2 separate regions of the Homo sapiens genome follow, and region 1 is linked to region 2. Evidence: promoter capture Hi-C in human tissues and cell types (Jung and others, 2019). All regions are on one chromosome and are shown on one strand. The core of a region is centred on a gene start or on the middle of the fragment in contact, and the rest is flanking DNA. Distances in the headings are between cores, read along the strand shown. Region 1 holds the start of USP54 (ubiquitin specific peptidase 54). Region 2 holds the start of MYOZ1 (myozenin 1).

Region 1 (5,788 bases), core at 2,581-5,080, 47 kb before region 2:
AGCCCATTATGAAAGTGATATTTGACTCAATCTAAATATCAAATATTAAATATTTTACTTTCAAAAGGATCATAGGCCTCATGCCTCAAGGAAGCAGGTGCTAATGAACAAATTTATCTAACTTCCCAAAAATCATTCCCAGAAGCATCTGTTAACCTGAAGTACTTGGCAAACCATCTCTTAGAATTGACAACATATTGCCAAAATCTTAGTGGATTTTGCCAACACTATTCTGCTGATAGGAAAAAAGAATCATTCAGCTACTTTCCAATTTAGCCACAAAATAGGCTCTTTTTTCTTCATTACTACTTTAACCAGTATGTTAATACTGAAAATAGGTATAAAGAAATCACAAATAACCTTCTTCTGTTTGAAGGAAATTTAAAATACTAAATCCACAATTCTTGCCTTTAATTCTAAGGAACTCAAGAAAATCTATGAATTTTTTTTTTTTGGAAAAAATATGAAATCTCCAAAATCTAATAATTGTAACAGAGAGGAGGGGGAAAGAGCACAAACAACAGCTTGAAAGATGCCTCTTGAAAGTTGAGAGTCCTAAAATCTCAATTTCAAAGTTTAATCTACTGCTATTAAAAGAAATAGCTTATTAATCAGTGCTTGGGAATATTTTTTTTAAAAGAAAGAAAACTTCACAAAAACTAACCGGTTCCTGAATCTTCTATCTATCTGTTTTTACCACAACAACTACAATACTTACCAGACAGCACAGTCAACCTCCAGCAAAAGACCTCTAATCACGAGGGTATCTGTGGGGCAAGTGATACAAGAATGGGGAGGGATATGGGAATAGCTAGAGCTGTGGGGAGGGAAGGCTAGGAGGGAGGAGACGACTGTAGCTAGCAACAATGAGAAACTGTGAATCTAAACCACAAGGACTTCCCGCAGAACAGGATATCAGAGAGAAGGCAATTCTTTTTACCAACTACCAGGAACTCAGCACTGACAATTCATGACAAAGTTAAAAAGGTGGAGCTTCCAATTAAAAACAAAGTAAACTTAAGAAACTAACCAAAAGTAACTTGAAAGGACGTTATCACAAACTTCACCTGAGGCTTAAGAAAAACAATTATGAAGCTGTTTCCTGGGGCATTCCTGATGACAAAGGTCATTAAACAATAAGGTTTGCAGGGTGGCTGCTGCTTCCAAAGAAGGGCCAGTCCCCCACAAAAAAATTCCTTTGCACTGCAGTCAAAAGGAGCACGAGAAGACAACATTTTTGTAGTTGTTTACAGAATAATCAAAACAATGTTATTGTTGGAATCCCTAATTCAGAATTCCAAGACTGGGCTTAAATTAAATCAAATCATTTTAATAGGCAAAACTCCTCCAACTGTCTTAAACGAGCCACACTATTAAAGAAAATTATTATTTAAACTGAGCCATTGGAATCTACTGAGTCAATTTTAAAATGCTTGGGATCTAAGGGTTCTCAACCCCAAAGTCCACAACAGGGAAAGATCTCCACCCCTCTCTCGGGGAAGAGACCTAGTTACATCACCAAGAACAAACAGCAGGCAGAGTCCCACCCCCAAACATGTGATCAGTCAACCGAGAACTTGCATTTGCAGGCAGGGCACAAAGGCCCCAGAGGACCAACACACACCCTTCTATGTATTACCTGAGGTTATAAAACAGTTTTATTGAAAGAAGTTGTTTTATAAGCATACTGATGAAAAAAACTCATCAGCAGAATCCTTGCCAAATATGAAGGTCTGTTGTGTTTCTATAGGTTGAGAGAAAATATACGAGTTGACTAAAAAAAAGATGTAATTAAGATTTATTGGTAAAATTTAACAAACATGGGCAATGTCCAAAACTAATTAAGCTCTTACATTTTAACAATACAGTATATTAAATTGAAGTAGTCCTTTGGCCACAAGGAAAGTGCCACAAAAAAAAAAAAAAAAAAAAAGATACTGTTGCTTTTCTTGTTAACCATTAGCATTCTAACTCAGGTCTCCTAGTGGTGCTAGGTGGAGGAGGAGGTAGTAATGCCATTTCAAAGTGTGAAACACAAAATTTCTACTGATAAGTGCTGACTGCAAATAAAGACATACAAACATCAAGACCAAGCTCTTCAATCAAGTCATTAAAATATAGGTATATATTCATTGTGAAACTAATCAAATAAAACTAGAGTACTGGGACAGAGTTACAGAGCTTCAACCCTGATTACAACTAGACAACATTACTTTTCATGTCTCATCCAGGTAAGGGAAGTGATCCACAGGGAAATCTCACTCTAATAGATTGTAATCTCTCCAGAGGCCCCTCAGAAAACACCTCCCATAAAACTCTGCTATGATACTCACATTCTGCCTTGCATAAGTTATTTTCAGACATTTCTTATTCCCTCTTCAAGACTGCACAAGAGGTTCTGTGCCAAATAGAAAGAGAACCCTGTATCAACCACTGGGCTTCGCCATTCAAAATAAATTGGGTAACTACAAGTTTTTGTTAGGTGAGTGTCAAACTGCCTGTAGAAAAGGTTTTATAGGCCGGGTGCAGGGGCTCACGCCTGTAATCCCAGCATTTTGGGAGGCCATTGCGGGAGGATCATTTGAGCCCAGGAGTTCAAGACCAGCCTGGGCAACACAGGGAGGCCCCTTCTCTACAAAAAAAAAAAAGAAAGAAAGAAAGTTTTTAATTAGCCTGGTGTGGTGGCACGCACCTCTCTGGTCCCAGTTACTCCAGGCTGAGGTGGGAGGATCCCTTGAGCCCAGGAGGTCAAGGCCCCAGTGAGCAGTGATTGTGTCGCTGCACTCCAGTCTGGGCCACAGAGCAAGACCCTGTCTCAAAAAAAAAAAAAAAAAAGGAAAAATAAAAATAGAAAGAAAAGGTTTTGGGTACATGATTGCTAACTACGTCAAGAGGGAGAGTGATACATAGTGTTTCAGATTATTATTTTTTAAAATAGGGTTTTAGTTTAAATGTTCAGGTATTCTAAAGTTGGATGACTAGTTACAACAGTACTTTGTAAAACTGTGCTTCAACAAAACTTAACAAGTCATATTTTTCAAGTACTTTGCAGGGAATATGTAACACCACAATAGGTCCACCTTAGACCAGAATAGACAAAGGTCTCTGAAAAAATATAAATATTATTAGCAAGGAGAAACAATATTTAGGATTTGAGTAAATCAATCAAGAAAAATCCTTGGAGGGTAGTGGGGAGGGTAATGGAAAAGCACAGGCTGAAAAGTCCTATTTGGTCACATTCCGTAGCTTTTCATTATTGGTTTCTACTAGCAAATAGAGTAAGGTACAACAGAATGTTCAATGCATTGAAAGAACATTTTGCTTCTCTTAAAAGTCATAAAAGAGAAACAGAGGATTTCTCTAAGAAAAACCAAAATAACTCCCTCTGGAGTAACCCCAAAGTCAAACCATCATTGTCTTTTATTTCTGAGATGCTAATGATAATGCTGATGTCGGCAGTAAAGGCAGGAACTGAGTGGCTCCGCAGTAGGAACACGAGATTGGAAAATAAAAGACTCTTTTTTTTTTTGAGTCCAAGTCTTGCTCTGTCACCCAGGCTGGAGTGCAGTGACACGATCTCGGTTCACTGCAACCTCCACTTCCCAGGTTCAAGTGATTCTCCTGCTTCAGCCTCTTCAGTAGCTGGGATTACAGGTAGGTGCCACTACACCCAGCTAGTTTTTGTATTTTTAGTAGAGATGGGGCTTCACCATGTTGGCCAGACTGGTCTCGAACTCCTGACCTCAAGTGATCCACCTGACTCAGCCTCTCAAAGTGCTGGGATTACAGGTGTGAGCCACTGTGCCCAGCCAATAAAAGACTCTAGATTTTAGAATGTAGTGACAAAATTTGGGAACTTTTTAAGAGACAGGTTCTTCCTCTGTTGCCCAGGCTGGATGCAGTGGTGTGATCACAGCTCACTGAACCCTCAAATTCCTGGGTTCATGCAATCTTCTACCCTCAGCCTCCCGAGTAGCTGGGACTACAGGTGTGTACAACCAGACCCAGCTAATTTTTTAAAGATTTTTGGAGACAGGGTCTTAGTATGTTACCTAGGCTGAGACTTTTAAATAAACTGGAGGATTGGGGTGGGGAGGGGTGGGGAAGAGACTGCTTTATATCAAATGAAAGCCTTTATCATTTGATCCTGGGGAGAGGGGAAGCTTAATTCAGAGCTGTTAAACTGGAGTTCTAGCAAACAAAAATTAGAGACGGACTTGATCTTAGCTAATAAGGAACCTAAGAGAAAATATTCTAGCCTTTGACTCTAGGTTGTAAGGAAGAATATACCATGAAGTAGATGAAAAACAGGGAAAACTACATAACTAATTTGAGTCTAGTGGGTTTTTTTTTAACTTTTTTTTTTTAATCTTGGTTTTGTTTGAAGACAGAGTCTCACTCTGTCACCCAGGCTGGAGTATAGTGCCATAATCTCAGCTCACTGCAATCTCTGCCTCCCGGGTTCAAGTGATTCTCCTACCTCAGCCTCCAGAGTAGCTGGGATTACAGGTGCACACCACCACACCTGGCTAATTTTTGTATTTTGAGTAGAGATGGAGTTTCACCATGTTGGCGAGGCTGGTCTCAAACTCCTGACCTCAGGTGATCCACCCACCTCAGCCTCCCAAAGTGCTGGGATTACAGGCGTGAGCCACCAAGCCCCACTGGTGTTTTCTTTTAAAGACAGAGTCTCACTATGTTGCCCAGGCTGGAGTGCAGTGGCTAGTCACAGGTGCAATCCCTGTGCAATCAGAGGTGACTCTAGTTTTTATTCTGAGATTTATTCACAATGTTGGCAGAGCATGTGTACCTTAAAGAGCTGGTTGTTTCACTCAAGTATGCATTACTGAGAAGAGGAATATTGCAGAAAGGGTAGAGGGAAGAGAAAAAAACTGATCCAAAGAATACATTTTGGAGAAACTTTGGCTGTTAATCACAGACCTGAGCAGCAAAATCATACAAGAAATCTCTATATTTCTCATATAAATGGACTCTAAAGAAGAGAGGGAGATAGGGGCCACACATTTGGGCTTCTAATTATAGCATCATTATTGTTTAAATTCATTTATTTAACTATATCTTGCATAATTCTAAAAAGTATATCAAATAGCATTATGTCATTATGAACATTAACCACCCTGTCTATAGAACAAGGGTTTTTAAAAGTCTTGGACTGGACTTAAAGCTCCTAGAAAGCAAGAAGAGTATGAAAATCCCTCTCAAGCACACCAAAGAATTACCTAAATGCTAGTCTTACAGAAAGTAATCAGCCGGGCGCGGTGGCTCACGCCTGTAATCCCAACACTTTGAGAGGCCAAGGCAGGCGGATCTCTTGAGGTTAGGATTTTGAGACCAGCCTGGCCAACATGGTGAAAAACCCGTCTTGACTAAAAATACAACAATTAGCTGGGCATGGTGGCGTGTGCCTGTAATCCCAGCTACTCAGGAGGTTGAGGCAGGAGAATCGCTTGAACCCAGGAGGCGGAGGTTGCAGTGAGCTGAGATGGTGCCACCGCACTCCAGCCTGGGCAACAGAGCCAAGACTCCATCTCAAAAAAAAAAAACAAAACAAAAAAAACAGGCCGGGTGCAGTGGCTCACGCCTATAATCCCATCACTTTGGGAGGCCAAGGTGGACAGATCATTTGAGGTCAGGAGTTCAAGACCAGCCTGACCAACATGGTGAAACCCCATCTCTACTAAAAATACAAAAATTAGGCTGGGCACGGTGGCTCACACCTGTAATCCCAGCAGTTTGGGAGGCCGAGGCGGGCAGATCACAAGGTCAG
Region 2 (5,854 bases), core at 3,111-5,610:
GTGATTCTCCTGCCTCAGCCTCCTGAGTACCTGGGATCACAGGAACCCACGACCACGCCCAGCTAATTTTTTGTATTTTTAGTAGAGATGGGGGTTTCACCATGTTGGCCAGGCTGGTCTCAAACTCCTGACCTCAGGTGACCCACCTGCCTCGGCCTCCCAAAGTGCTGGGATTACAGGTGTGAGCCACCATGCCTGGCTGCCTTATCTTCTTTCTAAAATTTTTTTAAATTTTTATCTTTATGTCCCAAATATTGCATGGAGCATACTTCACTAAAAAATTATTCATTGTGTATCTCAACTTCAAAATACAAGACTGGACTGCCCCACTGGGCATCCTGTGTTTTATCTGGCAATCTATCTTTAACACTTACCTTTACTGGGAAGGAATTTTCTCCCTAAGGGTGTGGTATTCTCCAACCCTTCAGTGGCTCTATGATGAAAACTGGGTTTCAGAGGTGGGCTGTAACTCACCCTGGAGCTGTTGCGGGCTCAATATATCTGGGGGTTTAACAAATTTATAAATTTTCAGGGAGGGGATGTTGACTGCATTTTGGAGGTTCAGGGCCTACTAACAAGCTGTCAGAACAGGCACCAGGCTTTGAGATAGTGATAAAGTTCCAGACTCACCATTGAGCTGTCAGAGAAAACATCAGGGTGGTTCTCATAAATAAACTTCTCCACCCTCATCTGCCGCAGTTTGAACATCTTGGAGCCCCGGTTGGTAAGCAGCGACAGTTCCTCCAACATCACATCCCTTGGGACACTGATCTTTTTGCCCAGGTTCAAGCCTGAGCTCTCCTGTCCACCTTTCAGGGAGGCAAAGAAGAAGAATCAAGGGAAAGAGGAAAGTAGGGTTTTCTGGGCTCAGAATGCAGACCTCATCCACAACTAAGTGTGTATGTGTGTCCTGGCAGAGGTCATTTAGGGGAACAAATGCTGTCTAGTTTGTGAGGGATTTTGATTTCCTGGGACTTGGAGAGAATGCATGGGAACTGGGGTGCACTGTGGAGATAATGGGAATACTAGAGTGGAGAGGCCAATGGGGTAAAAGAGGTACGGGCATGGGGTACAGAGCAAAAGGAGTAAAGGAACATCATAGATGGAGGCCATTGGAGAAACCATGGCATCAGGAAAAACCCAGAGGCCAATCTTGTGTGGAGTCCAAATACAGATGCCATATATATATATATATATATATTTGTTTTTATTTTTTATTCTTTTTTTTCATTTTTTTGAGACAGAGTCCTGCTCTATCATCCAGGCTGGAGTGGAATGGCGCGATCTCAGCTCACTGCAGCCTCCGCCTCCCAGGTTCAAGCAATTCTCCTGCCTCAGCCTCCCAGGTCGCTGGGATTGCAGGCCTGCACCACCATCCCTGGCTGATTTTTATATTTTTTGGTAGGGATGGGGTTTCACCATGTTGGCCAGGCTGGTCGCAAACTCCTGAGCTCAACTGACCTACCAGCCACGGCCTCCCAAAATGCTGGGATGACAGGCGTGAGCCGTGGCGCCCAGCCTACATTTTATTTATTTATTTATTTATTTATTTATTTATTTATTTATTTATTGAGTCAGAGACTTGCTCTGTCTCCCAGGCTGAAGTGCAATGGCGCGATTGCAGCTCACTGCAACCTCCATCTCCTGGGTTCAAGTGATTCTCCTCCCTCAGTCTCCCAAGTAGCCGGGATTACAGGCACCCGGCACCATGCCCAGTTAATTTTTCTATTTTTGTAGAGACAGGGTTTCACCATGTTGGCCGGGCTGGTCTTGAACTTCTGACCTCAGATGATTGGCCCACCTCAGCCTCCCAAAGTGCTGGGATTACAGGCATGAGCCACCACGCCTGGACTTTTTTTTTTTTTTTTTTTTTAATGGAAATGAGGTCTCATTATGTTGTCCAGGCTGGTCTTGAACTCCTGGGCTCAAGTGGTCCTCTCACCTCAGCCTCCCAAAGTGCTGCGATTACAGGTATGAGACACAGCCCCAGCCCTATTTGTATTATTTATTTTGAGACAAAATAAATATATCTTAGGATGAACTCTGTCACCCAGGCTGGAGGGTAGCGTCGCAATCATGGCTCACGGCAGCCTCCACCTCCCGGGTTCAAGCGATCGTCCCACCTCAGCCTCTGGAGTAGCTGGGACTCTAGGCACATGCCACTACACCTGGCTAATTTTTGTACTTTTTGTAGAGACGAGGTTTTACCATGTGCCTAGGCCAGTCTCAAACCCCTGAGTTCAAGCGATCCACCAGCCTTGGCCTCCCAAAGTTCTGGGATTACAGGCGTGAGCCACTGCACCTGGCCCAGACTTCTGTCTTAACTACTTTCCCTTTTCTTTCCCTCAGTGAGCTCTGGCTCCAAAGAGTCTCTAGGTATTGAAGAGCTCTTCACATGCATGCACCCCTGCCCACCCCCAGGAAACATGCCTGTGCAGTTTTCCATTTTAAGTACTTACACAAGCTCCCTAGCTCTGGGGAAAGAAGTAAGGGAAATTAACCACTTATTGAGACCTGAGTCTGTGCCAGTCTCCATTATATTTTCTTCCTCAAATATACCTCACTGACTCATGGGTCCTGTGGTCCTGGACCTGTGCAGGTAACATGGCAGGGTATTGTCTCAGATTATGAAGTGAAAAGGGTAGAAGGTGTTGAATCTTTTCTCTCTTTCTCCTTACCCTTCTTAATCTTCCCTCTCCCACTCCCCATCACCCGCCTTCCCACCACTTAATTTCTCTTGTTTGTTCACCCTAAGATATATATTTCTGGGACTCTTGGTTTAGGGATGCTCTTAAGAAGTCCCACACTAGGGAGATGCAAACATGTCCTACCTCCAGTGAGTTCCATGATCAGCTTGCTGGATTTCCTCTTCTTATTAGGGGCCGGGGTTCCTGAGAGCGGCATTGTGGAGGTGGATTCAGCCTGGACAGGGTGGGAAGGAGGAGTTGGTGGATGGACAGGGACTGGGAAGAGTGAGTGTCTGTAGGAGAGCAGCACTTCTTAACCTGGGTTTAAGGGCTTGAGGGGACAAAAAAATTTTTTTTTCTTTTTTAGAGACAGGATCTCACTCTGTCGCCCAGGCTGGAGTGCAATGGCACAATCATGCCTCACTGCAGCCTCAACCTCCCTGGGCTCAGGTGATCCTCCAACTTCAGCCTCCCAAGTAGCTGGGACTATAGGTGCGCACCACCGTGCCTGGCTAATTTTTGTATTTTTTGTAGAAATGTGGTTTTGCCATGTTGCCCAGGCTGGTCTCAAACTCCTGGGCTCAAGCAGTCCTCCTGCCTCCCAAAGTGCTGAGATTACAGGGGTGAGCCACTTCACCTGACCCAGATTTTCAAAGAAGCATGTATTTCCCCAAAAGGTGAAAACTTGCGCTTTAGGGCTTCTCTTTTCTTGGGATACAGGACAGGAAGTATAGATGCACACCAGCCCCTGTTGTCTACCAACCTGTTGTGAGCTGTTTTTCATAGAGTCAGTGCAGGAATTAGGAACATAGCTAGGTGTGGGGAGTGTTTAAAAAACAATAACACAAGCAGGGCAATGCACCCAGGTTTCATTGGCTTGGCATGATTTGAAGTTTTTATTTGCACTGGGATATCAGACTGGGGCTGTGATTCCAGGCTCTGGTCTCTCCTCAGTCTTCCCCCAGTCCCCAGGAGGACAGAGAAATATTCTGCCAGGGTTGAGGAGATTCAGCCAAAAACACTCTCCATAGGAAGGAGAGGTTGTTGCTCCTTCATCAGGCCAGCTGGAACATGGCCTGGGAAGTCATGGCCCTGCTCCTGCAATCACTCCCGCCACAGACCCCAGAGTGGAGGCAGGTGTGGAACTGGGAAGGGTAGGGAGCATTCAAATCCCGACACGTCAATTCAGCAATATCATAGCAGTGGGGAATTGAGGTGGGGCAGAAACATAGTAATAGGATCTGGCAATGGAAAGGGACAAACTGGGATAAGATGGACTCCAATCCCTTCTTAAGAGAAGTTGGCACTCAGTGAAATGCTGTCCTCTTCTAAGTCCTGTCTCAAAAAATACATCTGCAACTCTACTGACTTAGTGGGGTCTCCCTTCCCATTCTTCCAGTGCCTCCCCCGACATCTCCATTCCCCCCAACCTCCTGGGCCCCTCTCCTTCCAACTCTCCTTCCCCTCTCCTTCCAACTGGACAGCTGGGAGCTGAGCATAGATGAGGAGAGGGGAGACTCCCCCAGGATCAAGAATCACAATTGTAGACACAGACACAGAAGTCAACACAGTGGGCTCCAGCCTTTCTAACGATAGAGCTGGAGACTTACCGGCTGCTCGGGCAGTGGTCAGCTCTCCCTGGGGTCCAGCAGCTTTGGAGGACTGAGCTGCTGTGACCGGAGAACACGAGCTGGGCAGGCGTGGGGGCAGCACTGGCAGTGGGGGAGGGAAGTTGGTTATTAATAGAGATGATGAGCGCAAGCAGCTCAAATGGCACAGGGGGTACTGAGACCCTGGAACCAAGATCCCTCCCTCCTTGCCCGGAGGCTCAGGAAGGAGGGAAAAGGCCTTTGGGATTCTCCCACTGAACTGTCTGAGCCAGGGATCAGTCTGCCCAGGGACTCCCCTTCACATTGCACCTAGAGCCTGAGATCCAAAGAAGCACTTAGGGAGAAACTGAAGACTGAGAGGGAGACAGGAAGTAGACAGCAAGTATTGGATAGGAATTCAGTCAGAGAGAGAGAGTCTGGGGAACATGCCCTGAGGGCCACACAGAGCCAATCCAGGGCAGAGTGGAGAGACCTGTGGGTGTATTTGGAGCAGGGAGGGCTTAAAGTGCTATATTTGGGGACAAAAAGGGAAGTCTTCACAGTGGAACTGCTCTTTTAAAGTTCCTGGATAGGTTGGTCTTTTCTCGGTAAGGGCTAGATCTTGGCAGGTTAAGGGACCAAATTAACTAAACCCAGTACCTCCTACAAAGGAATGATGTGGGGAAGACTTGACAATTATTCTGTCTGCCTCACTCCCTATTCTTTCCTCTTGAGCTCTGGCAGTTTTAATAAAAGACAAACACTTGGATCTGCATTTTTTTTTTTTTTTTTTTGAGATGGAGTTTCGCTCTTTTTGCCCAGGCTGGAGTGCAGTGGTGCGATCTCGGCTCACTGCAACCTCCACCTCCTGGGTTCAAGCAATTCTCCTGCCTCAGCCTACTGAGTAGCTGGGATTACAGGTGTCCACCACCATGCCCGGCTAATTGTTGTATTTTTAGTAGAGACGGGGTTTCACCACGTTGGCCAGGCTGGTCTCAAACTCCTGACCTCAGGTGATCCACCCACATTGGCCTCGCAAAATGTTGGAATTACAGGCGTGAGCCACCGCCAGGATCTGGTCTCTAAGGAGTTATTCTCTAGCCACCACGCCCAGCCAGGATCTGCCTTTTAACCTCCATTTGCTGTTGAGATGCTCAGTTCAACCTGCTGTGCGGGATAGACATCGATGTCTCCCTGAGAAGCACATATAGGCTCTCTGAGGTTTCTTTTCTTCTTCTTTTTTTTTTTTTTTTTTGAGACGGAGTCTCGCTCTGTTGCCCAGGCTGGAGTGCAGTGGCGCAATCTCGGCTCACTGCAAGCTCCACCTCCCAGGTTCACGCCATTCTCCTGCCTCAGCCTCCCGAGTAGCTGGGACTACAGGCGCCCACCAACACGCCCGGCTAAATTTTTTTTTGTATTTTTAGTAGAGATGGGGTTTCACCGTGTTAGCCAGGATAGTCTCGATCTCCTGACCTCGTGATCCATCCATCTCAGCCTCCCGAAGTGCTGGGATTACAGGCTCTCTGAGGTTTCTACTTGAGATTTCCTGCAAAGGGAGCACATACCACATAGGATCTG

What was found. Contacts are between HindIII fragments. The study calls those that stand out against the background at their distance.
Region 1: a fragment that was not itself captured here is called in contact with the fragment with the promoter of MYOZ1 in region 2 in 1 of the 25 tissues and cell types used here (IMR-90 fibroblasts).

The regions. Positions count from the first base shown.
Region 1 is chr10:73,590,560-73,596,347 of GRCh38, forward strand. It overlaps USP54 (ubiquitin specific peptidase 54), which reads right to left and starts at 783. Exons shown (of 24, transcript NM_001391956.1): 1 at 719-783. RefSeq lists an enhancer at 1,066-1,816. The HindIII fragment of the contact is 7,322 bases long and covers 170-5,788 here.
Region 2 is chr10:73,637,114-73,642,967 of GRCh38, forward strand. It overlaps MYOZ1 (myozenin 1), which reads right to left and starts at 4,361. Exons shown (of 6, transcript NM_021245.4): 1 at 4,298-4,361; 2 at 2,832-2,922; 3 at 631-809. The coding sequence starts at 2,904. The HindIII fragment of the contact is 11,584 bases long and covers 1-5,854 here.